Regions from separate parts of the Homo sapiens genome. Here all the other regions are linked to region 3. The links are contacts of gene promoters, found by promoter capture Hi-C in blood cells and fetal thymus (Javierre and others, 2016). All regions are on one chromosome and are shown on one strand. Each heading gives the region's core, a stretch centred on a gene start or on the middle of the fragment in contact. The rest is flanking DNA. Distances are from core to core; before and after follow the strand shown. Region 1 overlaps METTL17 (methyltransferase like 17). Region 2 overlaps CHD8 (chromodomain helicase DNA binding protein 8). Region 3 holds the start of OSGEP (O-sialoglycoprotein endopeptidase).

What was found. The method cuts DNA at HindIII sites, captures the fragments that hold promoters and counts their contacts. A CHiCAGO score of 5 or more calls a contact.
Region 1: a contact is called between a fragment that was not itself captured here and the fragment with the promoter of OSGEP in region 3, in 1 of 17 cell types (naive CD4 T cells). The highest score is 5.1, in naive CD4 T cells.
Region 2: a fragment that was not itself captured here is called in contact with the fragment with the promoter of OSGEP in region 3 in 1 of 17 cell types (erythroblasts); the score reaches 5.3 in erythroblasts.

What each region holds. Positions count from the first base shown.
Region 1 is chr14:20,994,027-20,996,781 of GRCh38, reverse strand. METTL17 (methyltransferase like 17) reads right to left here. Exons shown (of 14, transcript NM_022734.3): 7 at 2,719-2,755; 8 at 2,169-2,239; 9 at 1,881-1,988; 10 at 1,549-1,617; 11 at 831-881; 12 at 490-573; 13 at 71-255. LOC101929718 (a long non-coding RNA gene) reads left to right here. Exons shown (of 4, transcript NR_110139.1): 4 at 452-945. Among named protein-coding and RNA genes, the nearest start is that of SLC39A2, 3.9 kb to the left of the region's middle. RefSeq lists an enhancer at 1-653. The HindIII fragment of the contact is 5,148 bases long and covers 1-2,755 here.
Region 2 is chr14:21,434,777-21,437,667 of GRCh38, reverse strand. The region is part of intron 1 of CHD8 (chromodomain helicase DNA binding protein 8); the gene reads left to right. Among named protein-coding and RNA genes, the nearest start is that of CHD8, 20 kb to the left of the region's middle. RefSeq lists enhancers at 16-175, 1-506. The HindIII fragment of the contact is 3,471 bases long and covers 1-2,891 here.
Region 3 is chr14:20,453,155-20,456,102 of GRCh38, reverse strand. OSGEP (O-sialoglycoprotein endopeptidase) reads left to right here and starts at 1,291. Exons shown (of 11, transcript NM_017807.4): 1 at 1,291-1,534. The coding sequence starts at 1,420. It overlaps APEX1 (apurinic/apyrimidinic endodeoxyribonuclease 1), which reads right to left and starts at 877. Exons shown (of 5, transcript NM_001641.4): 1 at 709-877; 2 at 400-525; 3 at 2-189. The coding sequence starts at 457. RefSeq lists enhancers at 614-833, 1,254-1,343, cis regulatory regions at 895-900, 916-921, 934-966, 977-982, 979-1,020 and 2 more, promoters at 768-1,102, 767-1,304, 934-1,378 and a silencer at 2,641-2,948. The HindIII fragment of the contact is 3,687 bases long and covers 772-2,948 here.

The sequences.
Region 1 (2,755 bases), core at 30-2,529, 540 kb before region 3:
TGGAAACAGATGCTGGCGTGGGCTGCAGCTTCCTGCCACATCCCACTGATTTTGGTCACACCCCCCATACCTGCCGTGCCGGCGGGCTGTGAGCACAGCATGCTGCATGTGCCCATCTGGACAGCACAAGTGACAATGCACATGGCGAGGCCGTTTAAGGACAGGCTGAGTGATACGGGGCCAGCGATGAGCCTCCTCTGGAGACCCCCGAGCAAGGATCACCATAGAGAACTTTTCTTCCTTTGGTTTCTTGTTCTAAGATAAGGAACATAGAGACTGTTTAGAAGAAAAAGATATGGGAAAAAAGTTTGTACAGTCCCTTCTTCCCCATTCCTGCAGTCCTTTTTTACAATGTATAAATCATATACATGTAGGCCCTAAAGTCTCCAGGCTATTCTACAAATTATCCAACTCCTCCTAACTCTGATTCTTTTTCTTCCTGTTTTTCCAGGATGTTTGCTTCCTGCTGCAATATCCCCAGGTACCTACCCAGCTGAAGGGGATGGGATGGTACGCCTGTGAGAAGCTACAGGCCAGGTTGGTCAACTGGGGACAAGGGAGTTCATGGGGACACTGTGAACACATAAAAAAATGAGGTAAGACAAAAGAGCCATCAATCACAAAACTTAAAAACTGAGAATAATAGAGTCAAAAGGGGCCAGGGAGAAGGGAGGACAGGAGCAGTGGGTAGGAAGAGCCAGGGGAATCATTAGGTAGGAACTGGATAGGAACACAAAGTAGTGGAGAGTGGCTTAGCTTTACCATCTTACATTTCCCGGCCACGCCTAAGTTCAGATCCGTGTGGTGGGACAGGCAGAAGTAATACTCACCGGGGCAAAGACAAAACCAGGTCGAGGGTCCAAAGGTGACTTCTCTTTTCCCTGAAATCAAAGGAAATAAAAGAAATAAAGCTGGGCCAAGGGTCTATTTTCATAATTCAATCTCTGCACTCAGTAAACTGAGGACTCCTTTAACACTCAATTCTAATAACGATTGACTATGTCCTTTGAATTAAGCTGGCTGCATCTTTAATACTCCAAACAAAGAACTTTCTCTTTGCTGCAGGAGAAAGGCAAGAACTTGGCACATAGTACGGTGCTCTCCCTTGTCAGCAACCTCCACTCTCAAAAAAATCCCACTCCAGGACAATTAAATTTATGATTATACACTGGCTCATACTCTCCCCCAGTGACAAGGTTCTTAGCTCAGCAATGCCCTAGATTAGGAGTCCGCAAAGTTTCTTTTAAAGGGCCAGAGAGTAGGCAAAATCTATCTCTGTCCCAACTACTCAACTCTGCTGTTTGTAGTGTGAAAGCAGTCACAGACAACAGAGGCACAAATAAGCATGGCTTATATAAAAACAGGTGGCAGGTCGGATTTGATCCACAGGCTCTCATTTGCCAACCACTGCTCTGTATCATAATGACTTCATACGCCCAGTTTCCTGAGAGCCACCCTTGTCAATACATGACAGTCTCTTTCGTTTTCAAGAGAGTAACAGTAATTGGTGCCATATGGGTGGGGGAGTGAGGGAAGAAGAAGCCTTACCTTAAGGACCAGATCCCTGGCATCCATGAGAAGGCTGTGCCCAGCTTTTGTTCCATTCTCCACCAGTACCTGTTCACAAAAGGGGAAAATATGCAGAAGACTTGAATTACACGAAAGTATAAATGTCAGTAGCTGTGTAAGAGCAATCATAGAGGGAGAAGGAGTCCTAAAAAGAAATAGGCATTACATAATCAGGATGGAGACCCTCAAAGAGGGATAAAGAAACCCATGAAGGAGAAAAATGGTGAAGAATAAAGACAATGAGAGGAGCAAAGGCATGAAATCCATGAAGCTGCTTCAAGACTTAAGGAGAACAAGGAATTTTAACTCACCAGGAAATGACCTGTCTTACGCCATAAGGTTTGAACTACCTCAGTGCGGTCAGCCTTGCTGGGCAGTTCACTTAAGGAAAAAGCTGACACTACTACATCAAACTGCACCTGAGGACCAAGACAAGGAACATGACAGACTCAACATCTCTACATCCCAAGAATACAACAAAGTCCTAGCCGCTAAATTTCTTTTATCTTCTAACACTCAGTGCTGGGCTGCAAAGCTCAAGCCATAGTTTTCCATCTGCCACATTCCACATTTAGAATATTCTAAACACTGCCACTTGCCTTGGGTGATACAGGTAGAAACTGTCTGAAAAAGACACCTGGAATATAAGGCTCCCCAGATTCTGAACCACCTGTGGAGAAAAGAAGAGGCAACTGTGAGTGTGTAGGAAGTTAGGTATAAACTGAAGAGATATCCAGATAAGAAACATGGCCCCAAGAATAGGTAAAGTGTATATCAAAAAGGGCAGGGATGAGCCAGGTATGGCGGTGCGTGCCTGTAATCCCAGCTACCCTAGAGGCTGAAGTGGGAGGATGGCTTGAGGCCAGGAGTTTGAGACCAGCCTGGGTAACATATGGAGACCCTACCTCTAATTAAAAAAAAAAAAAAAAGGGCAGGGAGAATATTAGGCCTCCTGTCCTTTGATTCTTACCCAACCCATCCTCAGTCCAGCAGAAACCTCTAATACCACCCTTTGCTTGACTATAACTTTAAAAGTAAACCAGATTCATCTTAATTTTTACCCTCTTCTCTACTTCCCAGTAAAACACTTTTACTAGTACCCCTTTGCTTTCTTAACTCCCTCAACTTTGGAAGTGCTCTTGCACTCACCTTTCAGTAGTTTTTCTGCCAAAACCAACATGGCAGC
Region 2 (2,891 bases), core at 116-2,615, 980 kb before region 3:
GTAGTCACTACAGGAGAGGGGTTGACAGGGCTGCTAGAAGGCCGGGGATTCAGAGGGAGGCGGAGCTGGCCTAGCGCGGAACCCTCCCTCCCAAGTTTATACTCTTCAGGGTGAAGAATTCAGAGTAGATGGTAGGGAATTTAATCTCCAGGACTGGTTTCGCGTACTATGAGACTGTTCCTCTGGCCAGCCCCCTTTTTTCAAGCAAGCTGCAGGCTTCGCCTCGGCCCTAGAAACCGGATAGGCCTCTCCGTGCGCTCTCAACCTAACCTGCGGGGGAGGGGGAAGGGAGCTCCTTATAGTCCCACCCTTTGCGCTGTTTTGCGTCTTTTCGCCTTTGGTGAGTGGCAGTGCGCTTCAGCCAATGATGGCGCGGGGCGGGCAGGAGCATCAGGTTAGGTTGCGCAGGAGGAGGGGGAACTGGTGCTGGAGAGACAGGGAGAGGGGCGAACCGGCCCCCCACAGCCACTGCAGGTAAAGCCACCTCTCTCCTCCACTGGGGTGAGGCACAGCTCGTTTTCTCCTTCAGGGCTTGTCGGGCCTCTCGGCCTGCAGCTTCCGCCCTAACATTGCTCCTATCCCGGGCATCCACACCCCCCACCCCCCGCATCTTCCCGTCTTGGCCATCCCCACCCTGGAGGGCACCCCCGCTAGCTCCTTACCTCAAGTGCATGTACCTCATTTCCATTTTGGGGTCTCCAGTTACCAGAAATCTTCCGCCTCTGCTGTATGGACCTTACTGGCACCAACCCCGGCAGTATGAGCAGGTAATGTACCCGGGTCCCCCCCACCCCCACCCCAGTCGCGTTTTCCTCTCCATCAACCCCTCACTTCCTCACCTCGCCCTTTCCCTTTTTTCATGAGTGCAGAATCTCTCTAGTTTCTTCTTTACCCCCTGAAAATACATGTCTTTAGCTGTCGTAGTTGCCTATTTTGCTTTTCCGATTTATTCACAAGGTCTTACTTTACCAGCCTTATATTCCCCCAAATGACCATACCCTTGATTGAGGTGTGAGTGCTTTCTCTTTCAGTAATTGGAAAACAGAAACAGAGTAGCCACACATTTGGCAGTGAGAATGGTGAAGACAGAGAAAATGGCCTAGGATCTTGATCTACTTAGGAAATCTGAGTGGCTCCAATTTGGTCCTATGTCTTTCCATCCTGATCCTTTGCTGACCCTAAATTGTGATTGCATTCACTTTGGATGTTTATTTTTCATTTCTGTATAAGATTTGAGACCCTTCGTGTCTCACGAATGTCTTCATGGTACAGTTTTAAAATACTTCTCTTTTAAAATTATGTTGGTGATTTTCATTTTAGCCCTTTGGATTATTTTATTTTCAAGGTATTTCTCATTTAAATTAAGCTGCTTCTACCCATCTTATGTTTCAGTAACATGTATTTATGTCTATCTGCAACTGATCTTCTTGAAAGGATACAGTTTCCAACAACAAGATTTGTTCTTTGAAGTAAATAAAATAGTTTATTCTTTTCTGAACCTTTGAGCAGCTAGAGGTTAAGTGGTCATGAGTGGTACTTTCTAAAAGTGCACATTACAGAAAGAGGTCAGCATGGCTCAATACTGCATTCGTTCATTGTCTTCTAAGAGGTTGTCACTACGGAGAAATCTATAAGTGGGCAATAGATATCTGTAGCTCATTTTACATAATTTTATCTATTAGACGACAGAACTAATCTCTTGCAGTGTTTCTCATCCATCATAAACAGTAAATGATGATAAACTCCTTTTGAGAGGCTATAGGAAATCTTATCCCATCCCAAAGATACTGGTAACTCTGCCAAGCCAGGAATGTTTCTTTCTCTGCCCTCTACTCCTCACGTGTCTTTTACAGATCTTCACTGGCCAAGAAGGCTTTGTCCAGTGTTAATAAATATAAATAGCCTAAACAATGAGATGTAGTTTTTTCACTTGATAAATATAAAATTATAATATTGAATACACCTTTAAGAACTGCACATTTATCTCCACCCTCGGTTCCCAGAAGCCCTTCTTAAGGGCCTTAGTCTCCATCCCCTGGTTGAGAATCACTGCTTTGTTGAAAGGTATGGAGAGATTGAGATGGAAAAATATAGGGTAGAATTAAAACAAAATACTTTATCATAGGACAGACAGTTTATTATAGAAATGGGCAAGGGTGAGGAATAATGTCAAATAAGAATGAGAGAGTTGGGACTCTAGATTTCCAAAAAAATCAAGAACTGTATTAAAGGTGGTAAAGCTGCAGAAGAACATCAGTTTGTACTTGTCTCAAGGGGAAGCAGTAGTTTCACCTTTAAGAAGGAGATGAAGTGAAGGGCTATACTGGCATATATAATAAAGTATTTTTCTACAGGTAACTGTATTGTTACTTGGCGATTATAGATAGATGGGCTTGGATTTTAACCTTAACTGACTAGTTTGTTACTTTTCCCTTCCACTGCCATCCCTCACCCCCTACATGCCCTCCAAGATTTCTGTCATGATTCTGGTCATTAGTTTGTAATTATGGAAAGTGACTAAGTACAACCACTAAGTTTTGTCTTTCCTTTTGAGCACATACATGTGTTTCTCTTTTGGGGACTGGTGGGCCAACACTGGCTTTTCATTCTTAATATGATAAAAGTTGGTGTGACTTCTTTATCTAGGCAGTTACTTTGCATTGAAACCAACTTAACATCTGTTCATTTTTGCTATTAGGGTTTGAATCAAGGAAAGAGAATTCATGAGATGGTTGAGAGGATTCATGAGATAGATGAGCTTGGTAGAATAAATAGGCCGTATGTGGATATAGCCAGGGTGACCCACAAGTAGTAGTAGAAGGAGGGTTAAAAAAAGTTAGATGTATGTTGGGAGAAGGTTTAATCTTGTAAGAGTCAAGGACAGTTTAAAG
Region 3 (2,948 bases), core at 42-2,541:
CATCTAATCCTTTCTTCTTAATCCAGGCTCGAAGCCCATCCACATTCCAAGAGCAGATCTTGAGTGTGGCAGGTTTGCCACTGGGTGAGGTTTTCTGATCTGGGGGGTCCTCATACAGGGCTGGGCCCTCTCCTGCTGCCTCTTTGTCATTTTTCTTTGCGGCCGTCTTACTCTTCTTGGCCTCTGGCTCTATAAAATGAGTAATATATACTGACAAAAAGCTGGTGGTTTCCAACTGCGATCCGGCGTTAACTATAGACCCAACGAAAGCCTACGGTTCCTGCGACTTCTTCACAAACCCCTGCAAAAATGAGTCGGCCCGTACTTACCGTACATCAAGGGAATGACAAACACCCCCGCCGCAGCTTCTAGGAAGAAGGGCTGATTTCATTCCCTTACCTGTCCTGAGCTCATCCCCGTCTTCCGCCACCGCTCCCTTTTTCCCACGCTTCGGCATTCCCGTTACGAACGCCCTTGGGCAGCTGTACCGCGTCACCCACCGAAGCAATATTTTTACCGCGTTGCCTACAGACGCAAAGAAATCATGAAACCAGCTAAGGCTGGGGAGAAGACTCCTCCCAAGAGCGTCCCCGCACCAGGTCCCGCCTTTCAAACCACGTTATCTCTAAATCCTTTCCCCGCCTCCGTGCATCATAGGCCCTTCAGCCCCTCACCCACGAAACTAGATCATTTCATAGTGCCTTGTACCCTACTCGCGAGATCTGCCCTCCAGCCAATTGAGGATCTTAATTAAGGGTCCTGACTCAAGCTTGCCGTTCAGACTGCCAGCGAAGCCCCTCTTATGAGCAAAAGAGCAACCCCGTATCTGCACCGGCCCGATGGCAGCCTAGCTCCTCCTAACCCGAGCACAAAGAAGGGTGCACGCTGAGCCCCCACGTGGGTAGCGGACCTGGTCACGTGATCAGAGGCGCGCTTGTCGTGGCCGAAGAATGCGCGTGATTGGTCTGTCTGACACCACGTGACGGAGACGCTTAGCCTCGCCTCCCTCCTCTAATTCTCTAGGACACTTAGGTCCCCAACCCTCCCTCGGGCTGTTTATCGTTGTGCCAGATGCACAGCACATTGTGTGACACTGACTTAAGATTCTAACTATGTGCAAGAGGGAAAAAAACAGTGGAGAAGGCTGGGCTGGACCACGGGAAAGAGATAGGAAAACGGATACGAATGTAAGGCACAGAGTTGGCTCGGCGTCCCTGGCAGTTAGGAAGACAGGTCCCTGGAGGGGCCTTGGCGGGTCTCCGCTCGCGGGAGTTCCGCGGTGTCTTTCCCAGTGCTATCTGCAGGCTGGCCAGCTTCCTCTGCGCTCCGGAAAGCTGCGGCCCAGCGCGGACTAGTGAGGACCTCCACAGCTCCTGACATTGCCAGGAGTCCTGTCGGCGTTTTCTCCCAGCCTCCGCCATGCCGGCGGTGCTGGGTTTTGAAGGCAGCGCCAATAAGATTGGCGTGGGCGTGGTGCGGGATGGCAAGGTGCTGGCGAACCCGCGGCGGACTTACGTCACGCCTCCTGGCACAGGTTGGTGAGTAGGGGACTTAAGAGTTTTCCGCGCACTTCCCCGCACAGAATCAGCCTTCCATCTTCCTAAATACTAGTGAGGTGCAGCTTTCGATCCGAGTCTCATTGAAATTATGTGACATTATTAACGTCACAAGGCTGATGACTAGAAGAGTTACAGGCACTTGGACGTGGATCTGATGAGTTCATTTACCTTTTACTGAGCGCATTTTATGTGCTAAGTATTCAGAAATAGATGTTATACTGCTGTGGAGTCAGACATATAAATAGATGTTTATACTACAGCATGATAAACAGTATAATAGAGATGGACTCGAAATATTCTGTTTAAAAAACGCTTAGCAGGAGTATAGATTCCAGTTGCCCTGAATATACACTCCCTTTTTAAAAAAAAATTATTTTTTGAAATATTCTAGGATGAGTAGAGAGATGAGAGTGGAAAGACTCCCGGCTTACATGTCAGACAGAACTGGCTGGCTTTGCTATATTCATATTAAATATTTTTGTTTTGGACATTTGGTCTTTATTTTTTATTTTATTTTATTTTTTTGAGACAGAGTCTTGCTCTGTCGCCCAGGCTGGAATGCAGTGGCACGATCTCGGCTCACTGCAATCTCTGCCTTCCAGGTTCAAGCGATTCTTCTACCCCAGCCTCCCAAGTAGCTAGGACTATAGGTGTGCGCCACCACATCCAGCTAAATTTTGTATTTTTAGTAGAGTCGGGGTTTCCACCAGGCCAAGCTGGTCTCGAACTCCTGACCTCAGATGATCCGCCCACCCCAGCCTCCCAAAGTGTGGAAATTACAGGCATGAGCCACCGCTCGGGCCTGGTCTTTGTTTTTAAAATGGGAATAATACCTGTATCATTAGGTCTTGAAGATTAGATGAAAGTACCAAACACGGCTGGGCGTGGTGGCTCACGCCTGTAATCCCAGCACTTTGGGAGGCCAAGGCAGGCAGATCACCTGAGGTCGGGGTTCGAGACCAGCCTGACCAACATGGAGAAACCATGTTTCCACTAAAAAATACAAAAAATTAACTGGGCGTGGTGGCGCATGCCTGTAAACCCAGCTACTTGGGAGGCTGAGGCAGGAGAATTGCGTGAACCCGGGAGACAGAGGTTGCAGTGAGCCGAGATGGTGCCATTGCACTCCAGCCTGGGCATCAAGAGTGAAACTCTGTCTCAAAAAAAAAAAAAGTACAAAACACATTACAACTTTTAATTGATATTTTAAATAAGCTATTATATCTTGCTACTCTCCCCTCAAACACTTGCATACATAGGAGAGGGCAGCTGACTTGCATGTATCTGAAAAGCCTCCCTGAACAGGTGATGTTGTGACAGATACTCACTAGAAATATATATGTATGTTTAGCATTCACTCCTCTGGGCACTTGGGCACTGGGAATACAA